Regions from separate parts of the Homo sapiens genome. Here all the other regions are linked to region 3. The links are contacts of gene promoters, found by promoter capture Hi-C in human tissues and cell types (Jung and others, 2019). All regions are on one chromosome and are shown on one strand. Each heading gives the region's core, a stretch centred on a gene start or on the middle of the fragment in contact. The rest is flanking DNA. Distances are from core to core; before and after follow the strand shown.

Evidence for each region. Contacts are between HindIII fragments. The study calls those that stand out against the background at their distance.
Region 1: a fragment that was not itself captured here is called in contact with the fragment with the promoter of AKTIP in region 3 in 1 of the 25 tissues and cell types used here (dorsolateral prefrontal cortex).
Region 2: a fragment that was not itself captured here is called in contact with the fragment with the promoter of AKTIP in region 3 in 1 of the 25 tissues and cell types used here (dorsolateral prefrontal cortex).

What each region holds. Positions count from the first base shown.
Region 1 is chr16:51,756,514-51,760,321 of GRCh38, reverse strand. All of the region lies in intron 3 of LOC105371257 (a long non-coding RNA gene), which reads left to right. Among named protein-coding and RNA genes, the nearest start is that of LINC01571, 4.1 kb to the left of the region's middle. The HindIII fragment of the contact is 4,196 bases long and covers 1-3,609 here.
Region 2 is chr16:52,068,426-52,072,221 of GRCh38, reverse strand. All of the region lies in intron 2 of LINC02911 (long intergenic non-protein coding RNA 2911), which reads left to right. Among named protein-coding and RNA genes, the nearest start is that of LINC02911, 7.1 kb to the left of the region's middle. The HindIII fragment of the contact is 7,804 bases long and covers 1-3,796 here.
Region 3 is chr16:53,501,653-53,505,437 of GRCh38, reverse strand. AKTIP (AKT interacting protein) reads left to right here and starts at 2,229. Exons shown (of 10, transcript NM_022476.4): 1 at 2,229-2,291. LOC124903690 (a long non-coding RNA gene) reads right to left here and starts at 1,058. Exons shown (of 2, transcript XR_007065069.1): 1 at 1,018-1,058; 2 at 1-697. RefSeq lists silencers at 1,062-1,151, 1,872-2,111, 2,132-2,201, 2,462-2,761 and enhancers at 1,472-1,571, 2,032-2,531, 2,532-3,033. The HindIII fragment of the contact is 2,688 bases long and covers 228-2,915 here.

The DNA.
Region 1 (3,808 bases), core at 262-2,761, 1.7 Mb after region 3:
TTTTTAACCTCATTTCAAATTATCTTTTAACCACCCTGATATTTCTGCTTGGAGATAATCACATCTCATCAGCCTTCTCAAAACCCGGCAGCTACATACCCGGAGCTAATGCTTCTTGTTAAATCATATTGCTAAACAAATTGTTACAGCTCCCGCAGCTGACTGATGGAAATCAGCTTTGCTGGACAGCCTCTTTTTCTTTTCTTTCCATCATTCAATTTTATTTTCTTTCCGTGGGTAATTTTAATCTTCCAGAAGATGTTTGATTGTTTCTCCTAGAGAGGTAGGACATGAGTTTTAAAAATGTAAAAGCAAATCTGCCCTATAGGTGATGAAGATGGAGACCTGTTGCAATGCTCCTGGGAAAATAAACACATGGATTCACATCTATGTTTAATAGAAGAAAATCTTTCTCAGGAAAAGCAATAAAATGTGGGGACTTCAGGAGAAGAAAAGTTACCCTGGTTATAAACATCCACAATCAATTATTCCTAACATCATTTAAGAATTCACATATTGTTGAGGTTTAACAAACACAGCAAGGAAACTGGGCTTATTTATTTTAGCAGTTTTGCATCTGCAGATGTAAAATCAAAAGCTCCCTGCTTAACATTTGAAAAACTCCTATGTAAATGACTGACCGCCTTATCTTGACACAATTTGCCTCAACTTCACTTCCTCTCACTTCGTCATTTAATTTGTATGGTTTCCAAATCAGAGCCGACTATCATCTATTAGTCCCCCTGGTGACAGAGGGCAGGGTGCTGTTGTATTGGAGTTAATAAAGCAGAAACACAAGCCTAATTACTGGGGAGATAAGCCATGCTGGCAGGGATTCTGTCCTCCAGGTCTGGACCTATCTGCACCCAGACATTTTGGAGTGGGTCTGTGAGCACAAGGGCAGACACAGACAGCAGCAGATTGGGCTGCATTTGTTTTCACGTTAGAGGTGCTGATACATTTCAGGAATCACTTTACCTGGAAGATGGGGTGGTAAACTGCATCTACAGGAGGAAACAAGTGTATATCCATGAGTCAAATGAGATAATGGGGGCAAAGGTGTGTCATAACTGCAAGGGGCCAAATAGAAAGTGACATTTTTGTTACAAGAGCATGGATGTGTATTTAAATATAGTCTACAGACACAAGCATTAAATAGCTCCATGTTGAATGTGTGTGAGTGTGTGTGTGTGTGTGTGTGTGCGAGAGAGAGAGAGAGAGAGGAAGAGAGAGAGATTGCCTTTCTGATGCCAGCAGTCACATATACCATGGAATGTATCACCGGAAAAATTAAAATATACATAAATATGTACTTACAGAAGTACACACATAGGTATATATACATCGTATAACATATAGTATCATACCATACATAGCCTAATGACTCAAAAACCTGATTGAAAATTTGATTTATTGATTATTCACAAGTCCATGTTGTGTTTTTATAGGTTTATATTATGTGCATATGACTGTATCAGACATATGCAAATTGCATACACATATTGAGAAGTTTCACTATCATATATACGTTTTCATATGTATTTATGCAAGACTCAAAGCCTGTCATTAGAGCTGCTGCTTTCCCCAGTTTCCCTCCTTCCCAAGTAAACAAACAAAAAAGCCTACCTGTGTGCTTAAAATCACTAACATTTAAGAGATATTCATAAAAAGAGGAAAAAATGATACAGTTTCTGCCTCCTGATTTGGAGGGTTACAATTATTGATGGATACTGTAACAAAAACAGAAAACTGTGTTTGGAGAGGTGAATCTATTAACACAGCTTTGTCCAACAAATATTAAAATTGCAAAGTAATTTGCCCATTTGACAATAGCTAATGAACTTAAGTATGCAGAATGAACTTTAATAATTAAGGAAATTGTGCAATTAAACTGAAAGCAGCTGAAAATTACAAATAAAATTAACTCTCTGGCTTGGCAAGAATATCACTGCTTCCAATATCCAACCAGGTTGAATGTCTGGAAAGTTTCAAGTGACTGTCCGTTTTATTGTGATGACTTACCATAAAGATATTGACCTCATTTTTTTTTCTAACAAAAAAGACCACTAATAATGCTTTCCATGATATGTTTCTGAATTACCATGTGGTTGGAATGATAGGAAAAGTCTCATTGGCAGGGTGCATTTTAATTTTGATTTGAGGTTTATGATCCTATCTGTGTCTATTTTAAATTTAAGTGGATTACATTCAGCAAAGATCCTTTTACTATCCTGGCTTGGCTGTCTCATACTATTAGGCTCTATATGTTCAGCTTCTACAAATCTGTTAATACATAAAACCATAAGAAGCCTCTTATGTTCAAACCAGGTTAGACCGAAGACATCAGATTAATATTTGTTAATGTAGAAGGGCTCTTAATCAGATTTGCTTATTTCATGACAGAATGTTTCTGCAATTATCATAATTGTTGTGCTAAATATGTTTGTCTTTGTATCTGGCTTTAGGCATAATCTTCTCTCTTGAAAGCCACTCAATGTGGGACTTGAGATTCCTGCACAAAACCCAATTAATATTAAGATGACAAGCCCCGATGAGCTCCCAAAGAGGCAACAGCTGAACAGACTCTAACATTCTTAAGTACAGATACTTGAGTGATCAAGTACATCTGAGGGAGACACACAATTCAATAATCCCTTTCTCAAGAAAGTCAAGAGCCCTGTGAGATGCGCGGGAAATCAAAGGAACACATCAGAAAGAAAATGACGGGTCTGGTCCTGTAGCGTCTCTATTAAAATGCAAAAGTTATGGATTTTTTTCGGGGTGATGGGAACCTTTTCTGTTTTCATTGATTTCTTTTTATAGCTTGATGATTTCTCTAAGATTATCTTAAAAGCTTAAAGAAAAAAGGGGCCTCATCAAAAGGTATCTTACATGACAGGAGCATAGATAGTTTTGGTTAACATGATGTGGCCAAGGCGCGGCGTAGTCCGGGGAGAAAGAGACCTCACTCAGGCCTCAGCCTGGGGAAAGTCTGCTGCCTCTACAGCAAAATGAAATTTTGCGGCCACATTGGAGGCACTTGGAAAACCCATCCTGCTGGGCCCTGGGCCTGTTAGGAGGGACTGAGTGGCAGGCTGGAGCTACCTGGGCCTTCCCCAGAGACCGAGTTCTGAAGAGCTGTATTCGCAAATGTATTTCCATTTTCATTGTATAAAGCAATTGCCTTTCTGTGTTGACCCCCAATTTCCTAGGCTCATGAGTGACTCCTTGGATTTACAGCTAAATTCACTGTCCGGAGGTGACACCCTAACCCATTGATTTGTAATCAGAAATTAGTTTCCTGTCACTTTAAAAGTGAGGCGCTAAGGGGCAGTAAAAACAAGGCTGTCGGAGCTAAATGGAGCTAGAGTCCAGGCTCCGGGCCGTGACACACTACCTTTCGAATATATTTATTACGTTAAAAACCTCAGTAGTGCACTTTAAATGGCTGGTGACACCCTCTTAGGTGACTTATTGCTCTGTGAAATCAGTTTTGCAGAAACTCTTTCACATATGCCAAAAATAAAAACCACACACACAAAAAATACACATGCACACAAAACAGCAGTCCTGTGTGTGTGCATTACAATGTATCGGTACCAGTCCATGGAGTATCTGCTCACTTCTGTGCCCAGCATATCAGCGGCAGGAAGCCCCCACAGCGGGCAAGGAGCCTCCCTAGAGCTGACATGACTCAAAGTGAAACCAACCAACGTGGCCCTTGCTAGTGGCCTGATAAATCTGGAGGAAGCATCAAGGCCACCTGCCCAATTTTGAGGTCTGTCCCTGGCGAAGAAGGACTAGTATA
Region 2 (3,796 bases), core at 1,006-3,505, 1.4 Mb after region 3:
GTGGAGTGCATTAGGCGAAGATCTGAGAGAGTTGAGATTGATGAAGTGGGAAAATGGGAGGTTGGTGCAAGCGAGCTATATGTAACTGACATCCATTTATTTTGTTAAGGTCAATGTAGAACCTGTTTTTTGGTAGGTATGTCTTTTTTTTCTACAGCATCTTAAAAACTATACATAAAATTCTCATCAATATAATTCTTACATTTGTGAGCATTTACATTAACAAAGCCTTTTATGCACATTCTTGCCTTTATTTGTCACAAAACCCTGTGAGATAGGGAGGTCTTATCACTCCAAACGCTTGTAGTAATGAGGACAGAGGTGCTTGAAAAAATTAGTGGTTGAGGAGACAGAGTGCCCTTGGAGGTTTCATTGGATAGTACTTCTTGAAGATGTTTATATAAAGGACCTAGCAAGTTTTCAACCTAAGTGGATGTTTTTGTTTTTGGTATTTTTTCCCACCTCTTAACACTTGCCTGCTCTAAATGTCTGAATTCTCCAGGGTTACTGAGCAATCCTCTGCTTTTTAGGCATCAGGTGTTGCTAGTGTAATATCTATAAATTTAGTTTTTAAGTTTTCTAAAGCTAATGCTTAAGGCCTTCTTCAGAACATTTTACAATGGTTTATTGCTTTTAAAAAATAATTGTGTATCAACCAGGATTGTTCTAGTACTCTTATAAATTTTTATATATTAAAAGAGACAATGTTTTCTAATTTGTTAAACTCCAAAAAATGTAGATATATTTTATGATTTCTCCATTTTCTCCTTCTCCTGGCTTTCTTTTTGTATAATGTACAGCTCTCCCACTGTTAGCAAGGAAAGTTTGAGTGCAATTGGCTTCAGCGTAGGAATTCTGATTGGGTTAAGACGATAAGTCATGCCTATCTTCCCAGCTGAGATTGGTTCAGGAATGGACCTTTAACCCCGTTTGAGCCAATGACAGGGTGAGTCACAGGTGAGAGAACTTCAGGAAGAGACACTCTTTTCCCCAGAACAATGTGGTTCAGTGGGACCCTATGAGACACGAACCTGCTTAGATTATTTTGTTACCACAAGGAAATAACCTGGATGAACTGAAAATATCAGGTGAAACTAGCTGTCCTCAAGGACTAGATCCATGATGACATCTTTTGGAACTAGAACTTCTGGATTTTTCTATTATGGGAGCCAATCCATTATTTTTGAGGTTTAAGCCACTTTGGCTGGGTTTCCTACCTTATACAATGTGTATTTAGCCCTCATAAAAGCATGTGCTAGTTCCCTTCTCTAATTTCTCTCTTTTCCCTACTCTCTTCCATGACCTGTCAGAACTGGAACCTGAAGGCCATGTTCATGGCTATCTCCAGGTTTTACCTGCTGTGCCTACTTAAGTAAATAAATATCCCATATTGACACTTGAATAAGTAAATATCCCATGTCATATATTTGTGAAAGAGTGATGATGAAAGTAATATTTAGCCTACAGATTGTCGGGAAAATCAAATGAGACAATGATCAAAAAAGTACCATACCAATATTAATTATCTTTCTGAACAGTGCTAATTTAATCTAGAAATTGTTGTCAAGCCCATTTCCACTAATTTCTTTCCAAAGAAAAATTTATAATGATCTAGTAATAGACCTATAACCAGGAAGAAGCAAGAAGGGTTATGTGCACATAGGTCATAGGTAGAATAATAAAACTCTAGTGTCATAATTATTTTATGTGCGGCCTGATTTAATGCATTGTGGAATATTCCACTGAATGAAATCATCTTGCAGACTGTAAGCAGCAGACTAATATTAAGAATTAGAATTTGTACACTGTGATTGATTATATTACAATAATTTATTTCAAAGTAGACATCATTATATCTCATCTAGAATTTCCTTCTAATGTAAGAAAATGTTTCTGAATGGTAAATTTGCTCAATTTTGCAGCAGCTGTTTCTGAGCCAGAGACCCTTGCAACTCCCTGGGGCTGGAATGCTGGGGGTTCTGGAAGCTGGGCAGCACCCTTTGACTCCAATATAGAGTGGGCAAGTGCCCTAGGCTTTCCCCTCCAGCCTAACTGTTGTCTACCCCAGGTCTACCATTTTCAGGAAATGCTACACAGTTGCATAAACAAGTTCAAAACCAGCTGCATTTTTCTGGTCTGACCGAATAGGGCTGTTTAACATGGAAAAGACATTTACTGGTGAGTCCGCCTTTGTAGTTAAATTCATTCCGATTGCCCCATCTTGTGGAAGAAGGAAAAATAGCTAGATTATTCTCCCCTTTGGGTGTATACCCTAGAAGAAAAAAATCAACCCATTTATCTCTCTTTATCTTTGTCTATAAGCTCTTCTCTGTCACATGATACATCCCAAATACACGATTCTGAAGAAAGGCCTGTATTCCTCACATATTTGCAACCTGATCCCCTTTCTTTACTGATAGGAGACCAGTATGTGATGGTTGCATTCAGAAGTGCTAGACAGAAATTCATTGCTGCAGGGGAGAACTCGAACTCTGCCACCAGAATGTAGGCCCAAGTCAGAATCCATTTGTGCAGGTCAGTCTCTCAACCTGCTGAGTTATTCTCAGAATCCTGGAACAACAGTGATCACTCTATATCCAGGTATTTGAGATACTCTCCTCTTCTTAAGCCAGCCTACCTTGTATTCGCTCACTGGTACATGGATGTCTATTCAGTGGAAGAGTAGATGGAATCAATTCACGTATTTGTTCATTCACCAATTTACTTATTTATCCATTCATTCATCCTCTTAACATTTTTTTTATTTAACATTTATATGTTGAGAATCTTCCATATGCCGTGTACCATGCTAGGTACTAGGGAAACAGTAATGGGCAAAACAGCCACATAATCTACCTTTATGGAATTGGCACTTTTATTGGAGCTGGGTACACAGATACTAATTAAAGAATCAGACACATATATAATTGAAAATTGTGATAAGTCTATGGAGGGGCATTAAAGGGTACTATGAGACCATAAAAGAAAGACCTGATGTATGGAGCCTGACCTTTCAGGATAAAGGGACATTTGAGCTGAGATCTGAAGAGTAGACACTAAAGGAGAGACAGGGGCATGTGGCAAGAGCATTACAAGCAGAGCCTGTGAGCTGGGAAGAATGCAGTGGCTGCAGCAGAGAAAAAGGAGAAAGAGTGGCTCCCAAGAAAGCTATAGAAGCAGTCAGAAACCAGATTATGTTGGGCTTTGAGGACATATTAGGAGTTTGGCCATCTGACCACATGGGTTGCAAATAGAAAACACTGTTCTTTCATCAAACGAGGCCGATTTAGTCTGACCTTCCTTTGCTTTGGCTCACAGCAGTTGTGACAAAGGAGCCAAACCAGTGCTTTCTGGGTGTCCCTATCTCCTTCTCGGCCAGCAAAACACGATAGGTTCCACTATTTATGCTGTGCCCATCCATTGCAACCTTTGAATCACAACTACATCTTTATAAGTTGCTGTGTAATTTCTCAAATTACAGTTTCTTTATGGGGGACCTCTACGATTTACCTAGCACCTAAGGGTGTTTGTTTGTGGGTACAAATGACTGTTGATTCTGTCTCTAGGCGACAAAGAACAGCTTGCCTCTGCAAGCAGTCAGCCTGAAAGTTGCACAACACTGACATCTGCTGCTTGTATGCAGTTTGAGATTGTACCGGGTCAGAAAGAGTAAATGTAGTAAAACTAAATGTTTGAAAATGTTGGGCAAACGTACACACACACACACACACACACACACACAGGTGGGTGCACACAGCTCCTCTACAGCCTATGGTCTTGTACTTCTGATTTTTCA
Region 3 (3,785 bases), core at 980-3,479:
ACTATATCATCCCGTCTTAAACATCTCTGGAACTCATTCAATTCTCCATCTCTACCTTCAAATTCATGCGATTCTCTGTTGCCTGAACTACTGCCATGGTTCCTCAACTGCCCCGTGAGCCTTGTGCCCCTACAATCTGTTTTCCGCACAAAGTGATGTTTTCAAAATACAAATCTGATCATGGCTCTCCTCTGCCTAAAGTCCAGGCAGAGATCTAGGGAAAATCTCAGCCCAAGTCGATCATGGCGGACTCCTTCCACTTGCCGTTGACTGGGTTTCGTTGTGGCCAGAGACTTACTTCTGGCCATTGAAACCTGCAGGCATTTCTTCTGCGGAGCTTCTGGGAAAGGTAGTCATGTATTTCAAAAGGGACCACTGGAAGAAAGGGATACTTTTAATTTTGTGAGATCCTGGGTGTGCCGCGGCCATCTTGCTACCAGCCTGAAAGTGCAATTCCAGGGACTGCAAGGAAAGCAGAGCCTGAAGACCAGGGCACCACCTCTGGAGACAATCCTCCCATGGGAGAGAAATCCCCTTGCTAAGTAAGCCGGTTTGAGTTGGCTTTCCTGCCATGTGCAGTCTGATGCTGGTGTGCGTCTGAGTCATCCGGTGCCAAGTACGCAGTTGATGACATGCATTGGAAGCTCAGTGGATAGATGTGAGCTGGAGAAATACCTATGTGGGTCCTCGGTGAAAACTGAAGGTTGGGGAAAGGAGGAAAGCAGAAAAAAAGCTTTGCAGAGGATAATGAGCTTCAAAGAAGATTGGGAGGAAATGGGCCACAGAGGTGCCAAAGGAGACCACCTGTGGCCTGAAAAAAGGATTTCCTGCTTGCCTGCCTTTCTGTATTAAGACTCGTATTAAAAGGCATGATAACATTCCTAAATGTGTCCTAAGGGGACAAAAGGAAGTGGCTCAGAAGTGTTTTCAGCTAGGGGAGGAAGCTGGGTTTCAGAACCAACCCTTGGGATTAACATCAGGAGAATTTGGCTTCCTGCCCTTTAATAAGTCACTTACCAGAATCTCAGAGGCAACCAAAAATGGACCAAACAACCCGGCCAGAGAATGCGGCTTCTGAGTGTAAGACACTGAGGCGGTGTCACAGACAGGTCAGTGCCTCTGGTGTCTAGAAAAGGGGCAGGGGCTTGCGGGGAGAGGGCTGTCGCGCAAGTGTGGAAGTGGAGTGCCGAGATTGGACGGACTAACCACGGGGAGGCACCGTTGGTAAGAACAGGCCTGGAAAGCAGCTGGCAGCAGTCACAGAATTAGGCCAGAGAGAGACCTCCATGGGAAAGCAGACGGGAGGTCCAAATGAGAGCGTGTGAATTAAAAAAAAAAAAAAAAAAAAAGACCAGGAACTATGTTGCTATGGGAGAGGTTCTCCAACTTCAGTGTGCGCCAGAATCAGCAGCGAACTGTGACAGATGTGGATTCCTGGTCCTCAGCCTCCCCCCTCCCCCCAGCCCCCGGCCCCCACTCGGATGCTGCAGGTCGGGGCCGACACACACAGATTTACAAAGCTCCTCTGGCTGCTCTAGTGCCCAGGGCCCACTTGGAGCTGAGCTCCCTTCAGCTCCAGCCTTCAGCTCCTGCACTGATGGAGAGAACGGGCGTTTCTTGATGCCACGCCAAGTGTCCTTCTGACCCCTGGTACCCTGTGGGCCCGACGTGGCGGCCTCGGGCCTCGCAGCGCCGCCCAACGCAGTAGGACCTAGCGATGGGAGCCACTGGGCAGTCGCGCGGCCCGGCCCTCCCCAAAAGCTTGGCTTGCAGACGTTAGCGTATGCCCCAGCCCCTGCGCATGGCGGTTGCGCTGTGGGCTGTGCGAATAAACCTCCGGGAAGGTCTCCGTGGTGACTGGCAGACGCCCTGGCCAATTGTGACCCGGCGCTTGTTTGTCTCTGCCCCATCCCTCCCCGGGGGGCCGATACTTCCATGACTGACAGGCCGTCCCAGGCGCTGTTACGTAAGGGGAGGGTCAAGTGCAGTCCCACCCAAACCGGGGTGATTTGATTTGCAGGACCGAGTGTGTTCTTCCCAACGCCCCCGGAAGAACGTCTTTGACGGGCAGGTGTGAGAGCCAGTTGGCGCCGGGAGGCCAGGCGGAAGCCTCGGGCCCCAGGATCGTGCAGCAGGGGGCGGAGCCCGCTGCCGAGGGCAGGGCAGGGCAGGGCAGGGCGGGGTGGGGCGGGGCGGGGATCAAGCAGGGGCAGGGCTGGCGCTGCGGCGGGAGATGCTGTCGGGCCGCGGCGGCGCTTGGCAGCCAGGAGCTCTGCATTGAAGGCACTGGGGTGAGGCTTACTGCCCGGCAGGCTGGTGGGTACGCGAGGGCTGAGGTGTCTGTAAATCTGGCCGCCAGCCTCCACGGGCCCGGCATTTGTCCATCTTTCTAGGCGCTCGCGACTCGGCGACGGCGGCCGCAGTGGGACACGGAGGCGGGGCCGGGCACCTGTGCGCGTTTGCAGGCACCTGCTGCGCTGGCCGCCTCGCAGCCCGGGACTGCTGCTGGGGACTGCGGCTGGAGCTGGGCTGGCCCGGCCCGAGGGAGAGGGGGGCCCAGCTGGCTCGCCCCGGCCCGTGCCCGCCCTCCCCGGCCGGGTCCCGACCCCGAGCTCTGGTTAAGGGGGCGTCGCCGGGCCCCAGAGCCCCCCCACTGGAGGGGCCCGCGGCTCCCGGGCCAGCATCGAGCTAGCTGCGAGGCCAGGACAGGGCCCCCGCCTTGCATCACCTCGAGACAGGTTTGTCCAGATTCCCTGAGTGCTCAGAGACGGGTTTCCGCCCGCGGTGAGGGTGCCGGTCCGAGGCCGCCGCGGGTCCCGGCTGTCCCCAGCGAGCCTGGCCCGGGCCGTTTTCATCTTTTTTTTTCTGGCCCCTGCTCTGTCTCCTCTTAACGTGTAATTTCTTAAGTCCGATTCGGGGTGATGTGAGTGCGCTGTGGCATGTAGAGTAACAGCAGCACTCATGTTTTAGCCTAGTTTTAGCTCTGCCACGCACTGTCATTCGCGCAGGCTGAAGACCCAGACTTCTCAGCTGGGTGATGTAAAGGAATGCAGCCGTGGCCAAACAGGCAGAAATTCTAAAATTGTTTCCAAGTGACAAGGATGTAACATGTCTTGCTTCCATCTATGTCATTCCTCTCAGAACATGTATGCTGTGCTTGTCCTAGACTAGACCCTGAAAAGTGTGCTACAGTTTCTCGTGATTATGTTGCTGCTGGAAACATTGGATTAAAAGATCCATAGCAAAGTTAGGCAGCAGAAGACAATACCTCCTGCTTAATGACAGGCAGAACTGGGGACAAAATTTACTGGATTCTTAAAGAGAATCCTAACGCGTTAGACCTTTAAGAGACTTTACAGGTTTGCACCAGCCCATTAAATGTATGTTGTGGAGCACACCACTGTGTCCCAAGGGATCCGGTCCCGTGTTAGGTGTGTCCTAGAGGACACTGGGGTGCTGCACATTACTGCTAGATCTGAAAATCAGTGTCTTCATTTGAGCCAAAGGGGAACATGCCCCCGCACATTTTTGATATCTCAAGTATATTCAGTGTGTCATACTCACCTTTAAAGGCAGATTTGCGGAGAACTGTTGTTACTTATTGCATGTTATCCATGCTAGTAGAAGAGCCAGGATCTTCATTCCTCTGATTTAATTACTGGGTGGCATTTTCTCTTGGAAAACAAAACAGCAGTAATGGGCACTGGCAAGGTATGGATGACCTGGGTTGGGTACGTCCCTGGATGTCACAAGCTCGTCAGAGAAGACAAATTATTGCTGATTGG